Regions from separate parts of the Homo sapiens genome. Here regions 2 and 3 are each linked to region 1. Evidence: promoter capture Hi-C in human tissues and cell types (Jung and others, 2019). All regions are on one chromosome and are shown on one strand. Each heading gives the region's core, a stretch centred on a gene start or on the middle of the fragment in contact. The rest is flanking DNA. Distances are from core to core; before and after follow the strand shown. Region 1 holds the start of PAPPA-AS1 (PAPPA antisense RNA 1). Region 2 has its middle 360 kb from the start of LINC00474. Region 3 overlaps LOC105376235 (a long non-coding RNA gene).

Region 1 (3,815 bases), core at 546-3,045:
ATAATTACAAGGACAAATTATTAGCAAGAAATAAGAATAGTATTAGAAGAATTGATCCTATTTTGAACCCCTCTCCAGTATCTTCACACTCTTGTCAACTCTCCAGGCCTCTCTCTTGCCCTGAGTTATCAGCCTGTGTGGTGTTAACTACCTTAGAAGGTACAAGCTAAGAAATGTAACAGTATCAACCCTCCCAGTTGCTTAATTATACCCATAGGTAATACAAAAAGCTCTGAAGACCCAAAGATGACATTACTAATGATGTGATTTCAGGAGCCACAGAAGAACCTTACCAGCTTCCCTCAAATCAGTCCTTATCCTCTTTCTATCTTCACTCCCATCATCATCTATTTTCACACTATCCAGCTAAGCAAAGATTCCTGGAGGCTGACTTGTATCTTCAGACTCACAGAGTGAATTCAGCTCTTCTGAATCAAGACCCACCCAGTCTCTTTCATTCAGACCTGTTGCTAACAAATTTATATTTGCCAAGGATATTAGGCAAAAGAGGCTACTTGATTGGTGGCCAACCTCGTGCCCACATGGAAGGTATCTTTAATAGGGTCTTTTCAAACCTTAGTGGAGGAGGGTCAGCTCAATTTGGGCAATGCATTTGTTCCCAGTTTCATTTTCTTCCTGGGAATTAACTCGTCATTTCATTCCTTCAGTCATCTTCTGTGTAGGTGACCGGAGCACTGAGAGGCAGCTCTGATGCACTATTGTGTGTCAGCAGCTCAAAGGCCCTAAAACACTGAAGGTTCTGCATCTGAAGTATTAGATTGTTAGCAGCAAAATATGAAAGATGAGGTGGACAGTCCTCTAAGCCCTATTTAGGGAAGCTTTTCCAAGCCACAATCTTAACTACCTACCCAAAGGATTTGCATTACCCCCAGATTCTGTGCCAACAACCTTTTAAGGAAATACAGTCCTTGGGAAATGAGTTTTGATGGTGAATTGGGGTGTTAAGGAAGGGAAAGATTGTCATAGATGGTAGGGCTTTGAAAATGCAGGGTATCAGCTGCCACTCCTGGCTTCAACACATTGAGTCACTGCCTAGACGGTTCTCTTGGTCTTATTCCCATCCTGGCCAATGCTTAAATACTATTTGTTGAAAATAATTCTTTGAGACAGATTTCAGCTACCTCCCTTCCAGGTTCGATTTAACTTGGTTGTAATTGTCAATTTGTTGTTATAGGTCTTACCTGTGTGAAAGAAAGAAAAAGAAAGAAAGAAAGAAAGAGAAAGGAAATTATAAGGTCAAGTTAACAGTTTTGAGGTTTTGTGTTTTTTTCTGGAACTACTTCAAGTGAGAAAATAAAAAAAAATGGTGACAAAGCTGTACAGATAGAGATAATAGAAGACAAAGAGATTAAAAGGAAATAAAAATGCATGATTAAAAACTAAGAATAAAAAACCTATTTTTATGTTTCCTAAAGGAAATTGTTTATTCTACAGCCTCAGTAGGTAGACACAAACATAAAGATTTCCCTAGAAGACATAGAGTGGGATTTGATAACACTGTCTGTTATTTTCTGTACATTGTGGTAGGTCCAGGAAATATGACATTTTCCCCCTTGATGTGTTATTGTTGTTGTTGGGTGGGGTGGGCATTTTGTTTATTTGTTTGGTGGCAATCAGTGGTAGTAGGGAGTGGGAGGGCTTATATTGGTTTTTCCAGCTATTAAGGGGACATATTGTGTCGTTGTGCTTTTCACGTTATAAAATGTTTATATTTACCAGTACAGCACTGGGCTTTATAAAGACTGCACTCAGAACCACACTGCACAGTCCAGTTTTTTAAAAAGCTGCTACATGACAGACAGGTAATCCCACTGAGTGAGTTTTGAGAAACAAATCAAACGAAGTAAACAAGAAACATAAAAACCAAATAGCAAATGAATAAAAGCCTGTTCTTGTAACTTATTCAACTTTTGCCAAATTCCTACCAATCACTTGCTTTTTAAAAGAAATGTATAATAGCCAAAAGAGAAATTATGTCCCTGTTGTACAGAAGTTAGAATTTTTGACTCCAGGCAGCAGTTTGCTCAGTGATCTTGAACAAGTTATCCAATTGCCTCTACATTTGCATCAGTTTCTCTAGCTGCAAAATGGGGATAATACTATATACCTACCTCACAGTGGGAGGGCAGGAGATTTTGAGGCCCTGAGGTTTTAGGTGGGCTGTGAGGGCCAACGCTTGACACAAAGTCCATGGGTTATTATTCAAGAATGCACAGGCCCATCGGCCTTTTAGAAAGACAAGACAGGGAGTGCTTGTTTGATATTTCAAGGAATAAAGCCGGAGCTCCTGAATTGTAGTCCACCTTAAAAGAGAGACCTGTATTGGAGAATATTTTATTTTTTTGGCAAATTTGATCTTACCCTTTACCAGTTCTATAATTTGGTTAAAAGCTGATTATGTCCTACAATGTCAAAGTCAGCTAACTGTCGTCTACTTAAGACTTCTGGTCATTTCCAACTTATAGAGGAAGGGAGTCTCTAAAATCTCTTCTTCAGAAGGCACCTCACTTCTCAGACTTAAAATTCCACATCAAGTGTTCCATTAAAAGAAGATAAGGCATTCTGAGTGCAAACAAATGGGGGCTTCTTAAACTACACACCAGCAGTCAGTGAGGAAAACTTTGAACAATTATTGAGTTGCTTTCTTGGGTCTCTATAATCAATAACCTGTCTGCAGATATCTATCTATATAAAGATATTATATATAAATATAAATTTACATATATATGCACATGTATATATAGTTGTACATATATGTGTGTATATATATACTTAAATGTAATATTTACAAAATAAAACTGTGATCTCGTCTAGAGAAAATGTATTCATATTACAAACTGCTCTTCCATATTTATGTACCATATTATACCTTTTTATTATTGTTATAATTATTATGGGTATTTCTAATTAATATGATGTTGAAACCTGTTTGGCACCTTCTGGAAGCTACCAAAAAAATGACACTCCATTGAAGTGCTTAAAAGCTGTTCTCATAAGAATTCTTCTGGCCTATTGTAAAAAAGAAAAAAAAAAAGAAAAAGAAGAAAGACACAAAGAAAATAATCTAAACACCAAAAACTAAACACAATTCCAATCCTTTTTCTGTACCTCACGCGCATAAATTTGCTGCTCCTATTTTTTTTTCTGTTTATGTGTTTTTATGGATCTAAGTTAAATCTTTTGGCAATATATAAAAATGTAAATAGTAAACTTTATTTATTAAGAATGTCATCTTTTTTAATTTATATTTACACAATTGTTCATCTAATTTATTTTTTCTATACAGTTTTAAATACTCAGACATATTTTGCTGTTCATGATATTTTTATCCTGTTCTCATGGATTTGTTTTCCCATACTGTTTTCTCTGATCTCAATTACAGGTTGGATCTCACAAATAATAATGTCAGAGACAGAAATATTTTGCCACTGTTGATTACTATACTTTAAAGTTCTATATTATGAAAATATATAATAGCTTGTACGCTTCAGTGTGTTGTTGTGTGGTTTTTGTGTGTTGCGGAATGATAAAGGGCTGTCATATATACACGCTAACATGGAGAGAGCCCTGGGGCCTGGAATTAGACAATCAATGATAGAACAAGATTTTATCCAATATATATCGATTCCTCTACAAAATTAATTCCTGAAAGTATCTAATTTTGCATATGCAAAAACTGAAAAACTTTCTTACATGTTATAAGAAAGTTCTGGGGAGCTAAAGCATATGTCACTCTTGGTTATATATTGCCTTTTGCACACAGCCTTTAATAATATACTTCCAGATGTAAACAC
Region 2 (3,815 bases), core at 593-3,092, 830 kb before region 1:
CTCATTTGAGACAAAGCAAATGTACTTTCCAGCCTCTGCATATTACCCAGTTCCAAAGTGGCTTCCACATTTTCAGGTATCAATAAAGCAGTTCCCCACTCTACCAGTAGCAATTTACTGTATTAGTCTGTTCTCATGCTGCTAATAAAGACATACCTGAGACTGGGTAATTTACAAAGCAAAAGAGGTTTATTGGACTTGGAGTTCCATGTGGCTTCAGAAGCCTCACAGTCATGGTGGAAGGTAAAAGGCATGTCTTACATGGCAGTAGAAAAGACAGAATGAGAGCCACGCAAAAGTGAAAACCCCTTATAAAAATATCAAATCTCATGAGACTTATTCACTACCATGGGAACAGTATAGGGGATACCACCCCCATGATTAAATTATCTTCCACCAAGTCCCTCCCACAACATGTGGGAATTATGGGAGCTACAATTCAAGACAAGATTTGGGTGGGGACACATCCAAGCCATATCATGGAGAAAGGTGAATACTTATACACTCTTGTTAGGAATGTAAATTAGTCGAACTTTTATGGAAAATAGTATGGAGATTCCTTAAAGAACTAAAAGTAGATCTACCATTTAATCCAGCAATCTCACTACTGAGTATCTACCTGATATGGTTTGGCTCTGTGTCCCCACCCAAATCTCATCTTGTGGCTCCCATAATTCCCACGTGTTGTGGACGGGACCTGGTGGGAGATAACTGAATCATGGGGGCAGGTCTTTTCTGTGCTGTTCTCATGATAGTGAATAAGTCTCATGAGACCTGATGGTTTTAAAAATGATAGTTTCTCCACACAAGTTCTCTCTTTGCCTGCTGCCATTCACATAAGATGTGACTTGCTCCTCTTTGCCTTCCACCATGATTGTGAGGCCTCCCCAGCCATGTCGAACTGTAAGTCCAATAAACCTCTTTCTTTTGTAAATTGCCTAGTCTCAAGGATGTCTTTATTATCAGCATGAAAACAGGTTAAAATAGTACATTGGTACTGAGAGTGGGTGCTGCTGAAAAGATAACTGAAAATGTGGAAGCGACTTTGGAACTGGGTAACAGGCAGAGGTTGGAAAAGTTTAGAGGGCTCAGAAGAAGACAGGAAAATGTGGGAAAGTGTGGAACTCCCTAGATACTTGTTGAATGGTTTTAACCAAAATGCTGATAATGATACAGGCAATGAAATCCAGGCTGAGGTGGTCTCAGATGGAGATAAGGGACTTGTTGGGAACTGCAGTAAAGATGACTCTTGTTATGTTTTATCAAAAAGATTGGCAGCGGTGACTCTTGTTATGTTTTAGCAAAAAGACTGGCAGCATTTTGCCCCTGCCCTAGAGATCTGCAGAACTTTGAACTTGAGAAAGATGATTTAGGGTATCTGGTGGAATAAGTTTCTTCCTTCCTTCCTTCCTTTCTTCCTTCCTTCATTCATTCATTCCTTCCTTCCTCTCTCTCTTTTTCCTTCCTTCCTTCCTTTCTCTCTCTCTCTCTTTCTTTCTTTCTTTCTTTTTTTCTTCTTTTTTGGAGTCTCACTCTGTCATCCAGGCTGGAGTGTAGTGGTGTGATCTCGGCTCACTGAAACCTCCACCTCCTGGGTTCAAGCAATTCTCCTGCCTCAACCTCCTGAGTAGCTGGGATTACAGGTGCCTGCTACTATGCCTGGCTAATTTTTTTTTTTTTTTGTATTTTTAGTAAAGACAAGGTTTCACCATGTTGGCCAGGCTGGTTTCAAACTCCTGACCTCAAGTGATCTGCCTGCCTCAGTCTCCCAAAGTGCTGGGATTACAGGCATGGGTGGAAAAAGTTTCTAAGCAGCAAAGCATTCAAGATGTGACTTGCGTGCTGTTAAAGGCATTCAGTTTTATAAGAGAAGCAAACTATAAAAACTCAGAAAATTTGCAGCCTGACAATGCAAAAGAAAACTTCCTTTTCTGAGGAGAAATTCAAGCCAGCTGCAGAAATTTGCATAAGTAAAAAGAAGTTGAATGTTAATCCCCAAGACAATGGGGAAAATATCTCCAGAGCCTGAAAAAGGTCTTCATGGCAGCATCTCTCATCACAGACCCAGAGGCCTAGGAGGAAAAAGTGGTTTCATGGGCCAGGCCCAGAGTCCCCATGCTGTGTGCAGCCTAGGGACTTGGTGCCCTGCGTCCCAACTTCTCCAGCCATGTCTGAAAGGGGCCAATGTAGAGCTCAAGCTGTGGCTTCAAGGGTGCAAGCCCCAAGCCCTGCCAGCTTCCATGTGGTGTTGAGCCTGCCAGTGCACAGAAGTCAATAATTGGAGTTTGGGAACCTCCACCTAGATATCAGAAGATGTATGGAAATGCCTGGAGGTCTAGGCAGAAGTTTGCTGCAGGGGTGGGGCCCTCATGGAGAACCTCTGCTAAGGCAGTGTGGAAGGGAAATGTGGGGTTGAAGCCACCACCCAGAGACTCTACTGGAGCACCATTGAGTGGAATTGTGAGAAGAGGGCCACCGTCCTCCAGACCCCAGAATGGTAGATCCATCAACTGCTTGCACTGTGTGCCTGGAAAAGCTGCAGACACTCAATGTTAGCCCATGAAAGCAGCCAGGAGGGGGACTATACCCTACAAAGCCACAGGGACAGAGCTGCCCAAGGCTGTGGGATCCTACCTGTTGCATCAATGTGACCTGGGTGTGAGACCTGGAGTAAGAGGAGATTATTTTGGAGCTTTAAGATTTTACTGCCCTGCTGGATTTCAGGCTTGCATGGGATCTGTAGCCCCTTTGTTTTGGTCAATTTATCCCATTTGGAATGAGTGTATTTACCCAATGCCTGTGCCTCCATTGTATCTAGGAAGTAACTAACTTGCTTTTGATTTTACAGGCTCATAGGCAGAAGGGACTTGCCTTATCTCCGATGAGACTTTGGACTGTAGATGTTTGAGTTAATGCTGAAATGAGATAAGACTTTGGGGGACTGTGGGGAAGGCAAGATTGGTTTTGAAATGTGAAGATATGAGATTTAAGGGTGTCATGGGCGAAATTATATGATTTGACTCTGTGTCCCCACCCAAATCTCATCTTGTAGCTCCCATAATTCTCACGTGTTGTGGGAGAGACCCAGTGGGAGATAACTGAATCATAGGTGCAGGTCTTTCCAGTGCTATTCTTATGATAATGAATGGGTCTCATGATATCTGATGGTTTTAAAAACGGGAGTTTCTCTGCACAAGCTCTCTCTTTGCCTGCTTCCATCTATGTAAGATGTGACTTGAACCTCCTTGCCTTCTACCCTGATTGTGAGGTCTCTCCAGCAATGTGGATCTGTAACTCCAATAAACCTCTTTTGTTTTTTTAAATTGCCCAGTCTTGGGTGTGTCTTTATAAGCAGCATGAAAACAGACTAATAAACTACCCAAGGGAAAAGAAGTAATTATATGAAAAAGACACACGCACACATGTTTATTGCAGAACAATCTGCAATTGCAAAGATATAGAACCAACCTAAGAGCCCATTGACCAATGAGTAGCTAAAGAACCTGTGCTATATAAATAGGAAGATACATATTTCATCCCTTTTTATGGCTGAGTAAAATATATACATATATATATATCTTCCTATTTATGGCTGAATACTACTCACCATAAAACTGAATGAAATAACGTCTTTTGCAGTGATTTGGGTGGAGATGGAGGCCACTATTCTAAGTGAAGTAACTCATGAATGGAAAACCAAATACCATATGTTTTCACTTATAATTGGGAGCTAAGCTATGTGTACACAAAAGCATACAGAGTGATATAAAGGACTTTGGATACGCAGAAGAGGGAGGTTGGGAGGGGGTTGTGAG
Region 3 (3,815 bases), core at 371-2,870, 750 kb before region 1:
TTGTTTTCAGGATACTAATACTTTGCTTTCCTTCCACCCAGTGGTCCTCATTTCAGGCTTGGGGGTCCATAGAGAAAGTCTATTCCCCTAATCCTTCAGAAGACTGCTGAGAGTGGTATAAGAAACATGGCCATAGGGGGTTCAAGACCTGGCTTTGCCCCTAGTGCTCCACTCTTAAAGTGTGGTCCTCTCACCAGCAGCAACATAGACATGCAGAATTCCAGGCTGCATCCCAGACCTACTAAAGCAGAATCTGCAATTTAACAAAATCCCCATGTGACTTATTTGCAAGTTGATGTTTGAAGAATGAGATGGGATACCAAGGCAAACAAAACAAAACAAAACAAACAAACAAAAAAAAAAACCAACCAACAAAAAAACAAAACTAGATGGAATTTCACTATGAAAGTAGCATCAGGGGGTGTATTACTTTGTTCTCACGCTGCTGATAAAGACATACCAGAGATTGGGTAATTTATAAAGAAAAGGAGGTTTAATGGTCTCACAGTTCTACATGGCTAGGGAGGCCTCATAATCATGGCAGAAGGCAAAAAGCATGTCTTACATGGTGACATAAAAGAACGAATTTGTGCAGGGAAACTCTGCTTTATAAAACTATCAGGTCTCATGAGACTTACCACTATCACGAGAACAGCACAAGAAAGACCCGCCCTCATGATTCAATTGTCTCCCACTGGGTTCCTCCCACAACACACAGGAATTATGGAGCTACAATTCAAGATGAGATTTGAGTGCGGACACAGCCAAACCACATGAAGGATAGAGTGAATTCAACAGTATAGAAACGTAGAAGAGAGAGTTCCTAGAAGTAGATTACTTGAGTGAATGTGATGAGGAATAAGGGGGAGCTAAAGATCATCCAGACATTTATAGACTGGGTGGCTAAGAGGATCTGGACTCAAAGTAGCCATAGCTTTTGCTGCTTTAACTGACGTCAATTCAATGCCAAACTTAGAGTAGCATGGCAGTCCTTAGCTGCTGTACTTCTTGAGCTTTCTTCGATATTCCCTCCAGGTATAAAACCTGTTTGCCTCAGTTCAGTGCTTCTATTAGCGATATTCTTAGGGCTCTCTCTGTCACAGGTTTGTCCTTGTTTTGCTTACTCAGAGGCACTTTCTGAAAGAATAATACAGCCTCCCTTCCATTTCCTGCCTCCTCCTTCCAATTACATAAGGACAGCCATGAGTGTTTTAAGCATTAAAAAATAGTATAGATCAATTTGTCAATATTTCTAAATGAGGCTTTGCATGACAGAATGTCTGCTCAGGGACTAGAGCTCTGCTTTCTTGATACTGATGACCTTAGTTACTGGGATTTCCTGAAGGGTCTTTTATTTTGTTGCTGTTTTAATGAATACACAATAGCATTTTCGACCCAGAGCAAATGTCCAAGAACACCTTCCATTCTCACCCTTCATGAGCCCTTCACTGGTTTTGAAACTTCTATTAACTCTAATGGTCTTTACTGGTGGTAAATTGTCTCTCTGAGCATGCTGGTAGCTCACCTAATTGGGTCTACCTTATTGTGACTTGAAATAGCACCAAGGAACGGGATGTCCTTGGACTGAGAACCTGATTATTTCATCCTTTAAGGTTCAGCTTAGATAAATATGTTTAGTGAAGTTCTCATTAACTTCCCTACCTGCCTCTAAATGTGGCTCAGACAGGTAGTTGCCTCCTAGTTGATAAGGATACTGTTTACTATATACACACGTCTGCTTTTTTTTTTTCTTTTCTTTTGGAGACAGAGTCTCATTCTGTTACCCAGACCAGACTGCAGTGGCTTGATCATAGCTCACTGCAGCTTGAAACTCCTGGGCTCTAGTGATCATCCCGTCTTGGCCTCCTGAGAAGGTAGGACTGCAGGTGTGCACCACCACACAGGGATAATTTTTCTTTCTTTTTTTTTTTTTTTTAGAGATGTGGTCTTGCTTTGTTGCCCAGGGAGGAGTGCAGTGGCATGACAATATCTCACTGCAGCCTCAAACTCCTGGCCTCAAACGGTCTTCTCCTCTTGGCCTCCCAAAGTGCTGGGATTACAGGTGCAAGCCACCACACACAGCCCACGTTTCTGTTTTAATCATAGAGGGAAGAAATACATAGACTAACCCAACAGCTAGCATGAAAATTCCTCCCAGAGTGGGAAATCTTTTGTCTATCAAAGTACCTTGATTAGCTGCTTTTGGTGGAAGATGAGACACTTAGGGCATGGTTAGAGTCAGGAAATTAAATGATTTTTGTTTTCAGCATTAAAAAATCAGTAAAGTTGAGGCATAGAAGAGAACAGAGAAGTGAGGGGAAATTGAACAACAATGGCGAGGGACTGGAGACTGAATCCCAGGCACATTTGAAACTTAAAACTTGAGCGCAGGTCATTTGATTACCCAGTAAGTAATTAATGGCACAGTTACAGTCTATCTACCACTTTCTAGACAAAAACATGCTTGGGCAGTCTTCATGGAAATGGCACTATGAACCTGTAGACACATTTATAAACACAAAGATATCTCACTTATTTGGAGATTACTATTTCCAGCACAGCCTGTGACCTATGAGTAGGCAGTGAAATGAGAGGATATAAAATAACCCCCAATAATAATACATAGCTCGCATTTATGAAGCTTGCTAGGCACCAGGCACTTTGTAAACAGTTTTTCTCATACATGATGTGCCTAACATTTGCAAAGATAGCGTGCATATTATGCATGTTTCCAATTTTTCTGGTAGAAAAACTGAGACTTGGAAAGGTTAAATGGATGCCAAGGTCTATGAGTTAGAATATGATGGACTAGCACTAGAACTCTAATTCCAAAAAGCCTGCTATTTACCAAATATTTTCAACCCAAGGCTTCTTCCTATGGATAACTAAATGTGCCTACTAAACCAAGTTTTAAATTTTAGTCATGAAATAGCCCCTTAAGTTCCAGAGTAGAGCTCATTTACTCTTTTTTTATATGATAACTTAATGATGATACCTGGTTATCTAGTTGACACATTAAAAACTATAAATTTAATAAGTCATAGTGATGAGGGAATCCAAGAGGTAGGCCTGTGGACAATGTCAGTGAGTATTGGAAAATTAAATGAGAGCGGACACAAAAGAACAAAAACAAAACAAAACATGGAATTCAAACAAACAGAAACAGTCAGTGTGAGAAAATTCAAAGTTTGTTAAATTCAGCGAAATTGTCACTATATTCTGGTCCAGAATGTCACTGTGAAGAGTGACAACTCTGGGTTAAAAAGAAATTATGTTATAGTTCCCATTTTGAAGTAATATGACAGAATAAAATATACTTCAAGGGAAAATAATCTAATTTAAATGACTAAAATATGCACTGGTGCAGTAAATGGCTTTAGCTTATGGAGAGAAGATATTTTGGTACCCACCCTGGCCTTGCACATACATGTTAGTTCTGTGTCCTGGAGTTTCACCACTTTGAGTCATATTTACTAGTTTCTACAGTAGGAAAACTAATTATTTCTGAGGGTCCTTGTGAAGAGGAAAATAGATGACGTGTATAACACGCTCGACACATAGATTATGTTCCATATAGTTGTATTAAATCATGTTGAAAGGTCATTTTTTGTGCCCAAACGGGAATGTTCTGGCAATTGTAAAGACTTTCCAACATGGTGCAGGTCTTGCCTGAAAATAGCATGTGCATGGAATATTCACTCATCATTAGGAGAAGAAAACAGAGAGGGACTTTCCCATTCCTGCGTTATCTATTTCCACTTTGTGGAGAAAGCCATAATGTGTCAGATACACTAACTCTTGTTCTTCATATCCCA

Evidence for each region. Contacts are between HindIII fragments. The study calls those that stand out against the background at their distance.
Region 2: a fragment that was not itself captured here is called in contact with the fragment with the promoter of PAPPA-AS1 in region 1 in 2 of the 25 tissues and cell types used here (H1 embryonic stem cells and IMR-90 fibroblasts).
Region 3: a contact is called between a fragment that was not itself captured here and the fragment with the promoter of PAPPA-AS1 in region 1, in 1 of the 25 tissues and cell types used here (lymphoblastoid cells).

Annotation. Positions count from the first base shown.
Region 1 is chr9:116,398,811-116,402,625 of GRCh38, forward strand. It overlaps PAPPA-AS1 (PAPPA antisense RNA 1), which reads right to left and starts at 1,796. Exons shown (of 1, transcript NR_103711.1): 1 at 1-1,796. PAPPA (pappalysin 1) reads left to right here. Exons shown (of 22, transcript NM_002581.5): 22 at 1-3,511. The HindIII fragment of the contact is 20,173 bases long and covers 1-3,815 here.
Region 2 is chr9:115,565,254-115,569,068 of GRCh38, forward strand. No RefSeq gene overlaps it. Among named protein-coding and RNA genes, the nearest start is that of LINC00474, 360 kb to the right of the region's middle. The HindIII fragment of the contact is 5,245 bases long and covers 1-3,815 here.
Region 3 is chr9:115,646,208-115,650,022 of GRCh38, forward strand. The region is part of intron 2 of LOC105376235 (a long non-coding RNA gene); the gene reads left to right. Among named protein-coding and RNA genes, the nearest start is that of LINC00474, 280 kb to the right of the region's middle. The HindIII fragment of the contact is 3,578 bases long and covers 1-3,409 here.